3 separate regions of the Homo sapiens genome follow, and regions 2 and 3 are each linked to region 1. The links are contacts of gene promoters, found by promoter capture Hi-C in human tissues and cell types (Jung and others, 2019). All regions are on one chromosome and are shown on one strand. The core of a region is centred on a gene start or on the middle of the fragment in contact, and the rest is flanking DNA. Distances in the headings are between cores, read along the strand shown. Region 1 holds the start of SLC22A8 (solute carrier family 22 member 8). Region 2 has its middle 58 kb from the start of PLAAT5. Region 3 has its middle 32 kb from the start of PLAAT5.

Region 1 (3,031 bases), core at 522-3,021:
CACAGCCCTCCCACCTTGGGGTCTTTGCACAAGACGGACTTTTCCTCCTTTCCCTCACTGCCTGTTTGGCCCTTGACTGATGTTTATATCTCAGTTCCAGGGGCATTTCTGTAGGGAGGATTCCTTCAACACCCATTCCCCACGCCCTCACTCTCACACCCACCCCAGAGGTCGGTCATAGTGCAAGGTCACTTTGAAGTTGCAATTTTACACTTATTTGTGTGGTGTTTTCCTTAATGGGTGCTATCTCCACCGGGCTGTAGACCCCCTGGGAGCAGGCATGGTGCATTTTTGTATTCCCAGAGCTTAGCTCTGTGCCCGTCACAGAACAGGCCCTCAGTAGCAGTTTGTTGAAGCACTGCTTGGACTCTGAGTGGGAAGAAGCCAAGGGTCTTGGTGCATGAGCTTCTGCACTCAGGTCCTTCCTCTTTGCCTGCCCAGTGACCTGTCCTCAGTTCCTGGGAACACCAGACCCCAGCCTCCTCTGCTGCCCACCAGCGGTGCAGGGTATGGGGGTACGTGGGTAAGTGGAGGGAGAGGGTTTGCCCAGGCATACCTCTGTCACAATGGAGTCCTTGGTGCTGTTGTAGACCCAGCCATCCAGGCATGGCTCCATGGCCCTCTGGGTGTCATTGGGCAGGCTGGCATTGGGCGGATGTACAAAACGGAGGCACCTCTCAGGCTTCCCATTTGGGCCCATGGGGAGCACCCAAGGCCCTGTGGAGGCATTGTGGGGCGGGCGACAGTGGTGGACAGGGGTGGCGGCTGTGAAGATCTGCAGCAGGTTGTGGTTGGCCATGTTGAGGATCGGGAGGCCCAGTATGGCTACATGCAGGAACTGGAAATGGCCCATGCTTCCCACACGGTCCAGGATCTCCGAGAAGGTCATGGCACTGGGGCAAGACGAGCCAGAGCTGTGGGCAGGGCATAGGCCAGGGAGAGGTATATTTGTGCCTGGTAGTGCGTGGGTCTATGGAACGATATGTGGGAGGGTGAACCAGGTGGATATGCGAGCACAGGTGTGTGGAGCAGAGCATGTGTAAGTGTGTAAAGATGTGGAAGCTCAGGCATGTGGAGCCGCAGATTCTTGTGTGGATGTCTGAGGAAGAGCCCAGCTGCACGGAGGGCTGTGGGATCAAAGGTGGAAGTGTGTGTCCAGGTGTGTGGACACAAAGGTATCTATGGGTATGTGCTCATTTAGGCTGCAGCATAAGGACACAGCTGCGTGAGCTCGGGTATGTGTTGTGAGCGTGTGCACCTGCGGACACGAGCATGTGTGTGCTCAGCTAGGCTGGTTGCACATGCTGCATGCATGGAGCAGTGCAGGACACGTAGCAGGGACCAAGGGGCCCAGCCTTGGATGTTGGCTACAAAGGACAGATTAGAGGGTGGGTGGTGAATGTCCCCAGTTGCTCCAGGCAGATACACAGGGTTAGCAGAGTTCAGGTTGTCTGCTGGGAAAGGCCTCCCCAAGCTCAGAGCCTCCTGGCTTCTGGCAGTTCCCTGGGGCTGGGCCCACCATGCTGGAGTATCTGTAAGAGCCCGAAGCAGGTCTCAGAGGGCACTAGGGGCTTGGCTAGTCGCAAGTGGAGCCTGGCCTTGGGAGATCCCTGGGATTCCTAGGTGCCTGGGCTGGGGAGGCCCTCCATCCCTCCTCACCTGGTGGCCGGGTCTGGATCCGATGGGGCTGGTGATCAGTGTAGTTGAGGTCCCTGCTCTGTCCTAGGGGCCGGCAGCTGCTGTAGTAGGGCAGCTCAGCTCTAACAAGCTGTGTTTGTGCCTCCCCCAGGGGGGCTTATATAAGGCATAAGCTGTTTCCCGGGCTAATGTTTGACTTTCTTTTGCGGATTAACGTCACTGGCAGGGAGAGTGCTGTGGACCCACCAAGCCCAGCTCTCCTCAAAGGGCTGCCTCAGCGAGGGCCGCTGGGGGTGGGGCAGCGTGGCTGAGCCTAGCAGGGCTGCTGGCTGGACACCACGGGCCCAAATGGGAAGTCTGAGACGTGCCTCCGTTTTGTACATCCGCCCAACGCGAGCAGCCCTGGCAGGCTCACCGAGGGGAGATTCTGGGAAGGAATCTGGCCTGACCTCTGAGGGTTCAAGGTCCCTCTCAACTGATGTTCAGAGGACTTGATGCTGAGGACAACCAATGGGAAAGGCACTGGTGCCCGTAAGCAGGCAGCATTCTCCTGTGTGCTACCTCCCCTGCCTGGCACCTCCCGAGTAGGGGAAGGGGATTTGCCTCTCAGGAAGTGTTAGGGCACACCCAGACAGAAAATGTCACTTTCATCTATCCCTGAGGACGCAGGGCTGCCATCTCCTGGGCCCCTGGGGCAGCCAGGACCTCCGTGTCTGTGTCTCTGACACAGGTGAACTGCCCCCTTCCATCCCACCCTCAATGGACAGGCTTCTCTCCTGATCAGCCGCTTCCCCCTGGGGACCAAATGTAGTCCCTGCTGTTTTATTTTCACTCTGAATATTATTTTAATTATATAATAATGTGTGTTTCCTGCATAAAACATGGGAAATACAGACAAGCCAAACAAAACAAATCAAAACAAAGCAAAATGTCCAGTCTCACCTGAGAGCCTATCTGTTCTTCTGGTCTTTTCCTCAGCAGAGACTTCAGTCTAAGACCTCAACTTCTAGCCACCAACATTAGGCTCTTTTAACCCTCACGGCAGCCCTGTGACTAGTCTAGCATTAATAATTAGGGAACTGAGGCAAAGGGAGATTAAGTGACCTCCTCACCATCCCCCAGCCAGGAAGCACAGGGCAGGGGCAGGGTGGCCCTAAGCCTATTCCCTCCCTTAGAACCAACATTCTCTACGAAGCCTATGGGGGCACTGTACTATTAATATATTGCCTCTCCCTTAAAGAGCCACCTAGAGGTCTGGGCGGGGTGGCTCAAGCCTGTAATCCCAGCAGTCTGGGAGGCCAAGGTGGGTGGGTCACGAGGTCAGGAGTTCCAGACCAGCCTGGCCAATATGGTGAAACCCCATCTCTACTAAAAATACAAAAATTAGCCAGGC
Region 2 (3,118 bases), core at 116-2,615, 420 kb after region 1:
TTAGAAGGAAAACAAACAGAAAGGACATCCACACCAAAACCCCATCTGTATGTCACCATCATCAAAGACCAAAAGTAGATAAAGCCACAAAGATGGGGAAAAGACAGAGCAGAAAAACTGGAAACTCTAAAAATCAGAGCACCTCTCCCCCTCCAAAGGAAGGCAGCTCCTTGCCAGCAACAGAACAAAGCTGGATGGAGAGTGACTTTGACAAGTTGAGAGAAGAAAGCTTCAGATGATCAACCTTCTCCGAGCTAAAGGGGGAAGTTTGATCCCATTGCAAACAAGATAAAAACCTTGAAAAAAGATTAGGTGAATGGCTGACTGAATAACCAGCATAGAGAAGTCCCTAAACGACCTGACGGAGCTGAAAACCATGGCTCAAGAACTATGTGATGAATGTGCAAGCTTCAGTAACTGATTCGATCAACTGGAAGAAAGGGTATCAGTGATTGAAGATCAAACGAATGAAATGAAGTGAGAAAAGGAGTTTAGAGAAAAAAGAGTAAAAAGAAATGAACAAAGCCTCCAAGAAATATGGGACTATGTGAAAAGACCAAATCTACATCTGATTGGTGTACCTGAAAGTGACAAGGAGAATGGAACCAAGTTGGAAAACACTCTGCAGGATATTATCCAGGGGAACTTGCCCAACCTAGCAAGGCAGGCCAACATTCAAATTCAGGAAATACAGAGAACACCACAAAGATACTCCTTGAGAACAGCAACTCCAAGACACATAATTTTCAGATTCAACAAAGTTAAAATGAAGGAAAAAATGTTAAGGGCAGCCAGAGAGAAAGGTTGGGTTACCATCAAAGGGAAGCCCATCAGAGTAACAGTGGATCTCTCAACAGAAACTCTACAAGCCAGAAGAGAGTGGGGGCAAATATTCAACATTCTTAAAGAAAAGAATTTTCAACCCAGAATTGCATATCCAGCCAAACTAAGCTTCATAAGTGAAGGAGAAATAAAATACTTTACAGACAAGCAAATGCTGAGAGATTTTGTCACTACCAGGCCTGCCCTAAAAGAGCTCCTGATGGAAGCACTAAACATGGAAAGGAACAATCGGTACCAGCCACTGCAAAAACATGCCAAAATGTAAAGACCATCAATGCCAGGAAGAAGCTGCATCAACTAACAAGCAAAATAACCAGCTAACATCATAATGACAGGATCAAATTCACACACAACAATATTAACTTTAAATGTAAGTGGGCTAAATGCTCCAATTAAAAGACACAGAGTGGCAAATTGGATAAAAATTCAAGACCCATCAGTGTGCTGTACTCAGGAGACCCATCTCACATGCAGAGACACACACAGGCTCAAAATAAAGGAATGGAGGAAGATCTACCAAGCAAATGGAAAACAAAAAAAGGCAGGGGTTGCAATCCTAGTCTCTGATAAAACAGACTTTAAACCAACAAAGATCAAAGAGACAAAGAAGGCCATTACATAATGGTAAAGGGATCAATTCAACAAGAAGAGCTAACTATCCTAAATATATATGCACCCAATACAGGAGCACCCAGATTCATAAAGCAAGTCCTTAGAGACTTACAAAGAGACTTAGAGTCCCACACAATACTAATGGGAGACTTCAACACCCCACTATCAACATTAGACAGATCAATGAGACAGATAGTTAACAAGGATATTCAGGAATTGAACTCAGCTCTGCACCAAGCAGACCTAATAGACATCTACAGAACCCTCCACCCCAAATCAACAGAAAATACATTCTTCTCAGCACCACATCACACTTATTCCAAAACTGACCGCATAGTTGGAACTAAAACACTCCTCAGCAAATGTAAAAGAGCAGAAATTATAACAAACTCTTTCTCAGACCACAGTGCAATCAAACTAGAACTCAGGATTAATAAATTCACGCAAAACCACTCAACTACATGGAAACTGAACAACCTGCTCCTGAATGACTACTGGGTACATAACGAAATGAAGGCAGAAATAAAGATGTTCTTTGAAACCAACGAGAACAAAGACACAACATACCAGAATCTCTGGGACACATTTAAAGCAGTGTGTAGAGGGAAATTTATAACATTAAATGTGCACAAGAAAAAGAAGGAAAGATCTAAAATTGACACCCTAACATCACAATTAAAAGAACTAGAGAAGCAAGAGCAAACACATTCAAAAGCTAGCAGAAGGCAAGAAATAACTAAGATCAGAGCAGAACTGAAGGAGATAGAGACACAAAAAACCCTTCAAAGAATCAATGAATCCAGGAGCTGGTTTTTTGAAAAGATCAACAAAATTGATAGACTACGAGCAAAACTAATAAAGAAGAAAAGAGAGAAGACTCAAATAGATGCAGTAAAAAATTATAAAGGAGATATCACCACCGATCCCACAGAAATACAAACTATCATCAGAGAATACTATAAACACCTCTACACAGATAAACTAGAAAATCTAGAAGAAATGGATAAATTCCTTGACACATACACCCTCCCAAGACTAAACCAGGAAGAATTTGAATCCCTGAATAGATCAATAACAGCCTCTGAAATTGAGGCAATAATTAATAGCCTACCAACCAAAAAAAGTCCAGGACCAGATGGATTCACAGCTGAATTCTACCAGAGGTACAAGGAGGAGCTTGTACCACTCCTTCTGAAACTATTCCAATCAAAAGAAAAAGAGGGAGTCCTCCCTAATTCATTTTATGAGGCCAACATCATCCTGATACCAAAGCCTGGCAGAGACACACACACAAAAAAATTTCAGGCCAATATTCTTGATGAACATCCATGTGAAAATCCTCAATAAAATACTGGCAAACAGAATCCAGCAGCACATTAAAAAACTTATCCACCATGATCAAGTTGGCTTCATACCTGGGGTGCAAGGCTGCTTCAACATACACAAATCAATAAATGTAATCCATCATATAAACAAAACCAATGACAAAAACCACATGATTATCTCAATAGATGCAGAAAAGGCCTTCAATAAAATTCAACACCCCTTCATGCTAAAAACACTCAATAAACTTGGTATTGATTAAACACATCTCAAAATAATAAGAGCTATTTATGATAAACTCACAGCCAATATCATACTCAATGGGCAAAACCTGGAAGCA
Region 3 (3,124 bases), core at 448-2,947, 440 kb after region 1:
GAACTTCCTTTAACAGCCCTCACCTTTACCCTCCAGAAGAACTCATTTACTTTCTAGACAGGTCCAGCAAGACCTCCCCAGACATTTCATATCAGCAAGCTGCCGCCCTCCTCCGCACTTACTTAAAAAACCTTTCTCCTTATATCAACTCTACTCCCCCCATATTTAGATCTCTCACAACACAAACTACTATTCCTGTGGCCACTCCTTTATGTATATCTTGGCAAAGACCCACTGGAATTCCCCTAGGTAACCTTTCACCTTCTTGATGTTCCTTTACTCTTCATCTCCAAAGCCCAACTACGCACATCACTGAAACAACTGGAGCCTTCTAGCTCTGTATTACAGACAAGCCCTCTATCAATACTGGCAAACTTAAAAACATTAGCAGTAATTATTGCTTAGGAAGACACTTACCCAGTATTTCACTCCATTCTTGGCTACCTTCCCCTTGCTCGTCAGACTCTCCTCCCAGGCCCTCTTCTTGTTTGCTTATACCCAGCCCCGTAAATAACAGTAAAAGTTTGCTCATAGACACTCAACGTTTTCTCCTACACCATGAAAATCAAACCTTCCCCTCTACGCTGTTACCCCATTAGTCCCCATTACAACCTCTGATGGCTGCCGCCCTAGCTCGATCCCTAGGAGTCTAGGTAAAAGACACCCCTTTCAGCCCTCCTTCTCATCTTTTTACTTTGCGTCTCCAGTTTTGCCTCACACAAGGTCTCTTCTTCCTCTGTGGATCCTCTACCTACATGTGTCTACCTGCTAATTGGACAGGCACATGCACACTAGTTTTCCTTACCCCCAAAATTCAATTTGCAAATAGAACCAAAGAGTTCCCTGTTCCCCTCATGACACCAACATGACAAAAAAGAGTTATTCCACTAATTCCCTTGCTTGTCGGTTTAGGACTTTCTGCCTCCCCTATTGCTCTCGGTACTGCAATAACAGGCATTTCAACCTCTGTCATGACCTTCTGTAGCGTCTCTAATGACTTCTCTGCTAGCATCACAGACATATCACAAACTTTATCAGTCCTCCAGGCCTAAGTTGACTCTTTAGCTGCAGTTGTCCTCCAAAACCGCTGAGGCCTTGACTTACTCACTACTGAAAAAGGAAGACTGTATATTCTTAAATGAAGAGTGTTGTTTTTACCTAAATCAATCTGGCCTGGTGTATGACAACATAAAAAAACTCAAGGATAGAGCCCAAAAACTTGCCAACCAAGCAAGTAATTATGCTGAACCCCCTTAGGCACTCTCTAATTAGACGTCCTAGGTCCTCCCAATTCTTAGTCCTTTAATACCTGTTTTTCTCCTTCTCTTATTCCATTTAATTTTTCAATTCATGCAAAACCGTATCCAGGCCATCACCAATAATTCTACACGACAAATGTTTCTTCTAACAACCCCACAATATCACCCCTTACCACAAAATCTTCCTTCAGCTTAATCTCTCACACTCTAGGTTCCCACGCCACCCCTAATCCCGCTCGAAGCAGCCCCGACAGACATCGTCCATTATCTCTCCATACCACCCCCAAAAATTTTCACCGCCCCAACACTTCAACACTATTATGTTTTATTTTCCTTATTAATATAAGAAGAGAGGAATGTCAGGCCTCTGAACCCAAGCTAAGCCATCATATCCCCTATGACCTGCACGTATACATCCAGATAGCCTAAAGTAACTGAAGAATCACAAAAGAAGTGATATTTAAATGGCCTGTTCCTGCCTTAACTGATGACATTCCACCACAAAAGAAGTTAAAATGGCCAGTCCTTACCTTAACTGGTGACACTACCTTGTGAAATTCCTTCTCCTGGCTCATCCTGGCTCAAAAAGCTCCCCCACTGAGCACCTTGTGACCCCCACCCCTGCCCACCAGAGAACAACCCCCCTTTGACTGTAATTTTCCTTTACCTACCCAAATCTTGTAAAACAGCCCCACCCCTATCTCCCTTGGCTGACTCTTTTCGGACTCAGCCCGCCTGCACCCAGGTGAAACAGCCTTGTTGCTCACACAAAGCCTGTTTGGTGGTCTCTTCACAAGGATGCAAATGAAACTCTGTATCATTTTTTATTGTGTTTATTTGATATTCTCTTTTCTTCTTTATTAGTCTAGCTAGCAGTCTATTTCCTTAATTTTTTCAAAAAAAAAAAAAGCCCCTGGATTCAGATTATTTGAAAAGTTTTTTGTGTCTCTGTCTCCTTCAGTTCCACTCTGATGTTACTTTTTTCTTGTCTTCTGCTAGCTCAATCATCCCAGGTCAACATCCCAGGTCAATTCCTGCTGTGCTGGCAGCAGGAATTTCAAGCCAGTGATTCATAGCTTGCTGGGCTCCATGGGAGTGGGACCTGCTGAGCGAGACTACTTGGCTCCCTGGCTTCAGCCTCCTTTCCAGGTAAGTGAACGGTTCTGACTCTCTGGGGTTCCAGGCGCCACCAGGGGATGAAAAAAAAATTTCTGCAGCTGGCTCGGTGTCTGCCCGAACAGCCGCCCAGTTTTGTGCTTGAAACCCAGGGCCCTGGTGGTGTAGGCTCACCATGGAATCTCCTGGTTTGCGGATTGCAAAAGCTATGGGAAAAGCATAGTATCTGGGTGGGATAGCACAGTCCCTCATGGCTTCCCTTGGCTGGGAAAGGGAGGCCTCCTGCTCCTTGCACTTCCCGGGTAAGGTGATGCCCCACCTTGCTTATGCTCGCCCTCCATGGGCTGCACCCACTGTCTAACCAGTCGCAATGAGATAAACAGGATATCTCAGTTGGAAATGCAGAAATCACCCGCCTTCTGCATAGGTCTCACTGGGAGCTGCAGACTGGAGCTGTTCCTATTCGACCATCTTGCCAGAACCCCCAACAAGAATATTTTTAAAACAAAGTAAATACCACCATACTCCTGGAAAAAAAAAATACACTTTTGCTGTCTGCCAAGAAGCAGCAGCATGGGGTTCACAAATAGTTGGATTCCTAGTAAAGATTCTGCCCAGCTGAAAATTGGCTTTGAAAATAATGCGACCAGAAACTTTGGGAGAACAGAACTTTAAGTGGCTCAGATAGCCTTCTTAGAGTTTGGATTACCATTGGTTGTTCTCCTAAAGTGATAAGAAGTTTCTAGAGG

Evidence for each region. Contacts are between HindIII fragments. The study calls those that stand out against the background at their distance.
Region 2: a contact is called between a fragment that was not itself captured here and the fragment with the promoter of SLC22A8 in region 1, in 1 of the 25 tissues and cell types used here (H1 embryonic stem cells).
Region 3: a contact is called between a fragment that was not itself captured here and the fragment with the promoter of SLC22A8 in region 1, in 2 of the 25 tissues and cell types used here (liver and mesendoderm cells).

What each region holds. Positions count from the first base shown.
Region 1 is chr11:63,014,070-63,017,100 of GRCh38, forward strand. It overlaps SLC22A8 (solute carrier family 22 member 8), which reads right to left and starts at 1,772. Exons shown (of 11, transcript NM_004254.4): 1 at 1,660-1,772; 2 at 557-914. The coding sequence starts at 889. RefSeq lists an enhancer at 777-1,631. The HindIII fragment of the contact is 24,341 bases long and covers 1-3,031 here.
Region 2 is chr11:63,431,240-63,434,357 of GRCh38, forward strand. No RefSeq gene overlaps it. Among named protein-coding and RNA genes, the nearest start is that of PLAAT5, 58 kb to the right of the region's middle. The HindIII fragment of the contact is 4,042 bases long and covers 1-3,118 here.
Region 3 is chr11:63,457,441-63,460,564 of GRCh38, forward strand. No RefSeq gene overlaps it. Among named protein-coding and RNA genes, the nearest start is that of PLAAT5, 32 kb to the right of the region's middle. RefSeq lists an enhancer at 3,072-3,124. The HindIII fragment of the contact is 5,176 bases long and covers 1-3,124 here.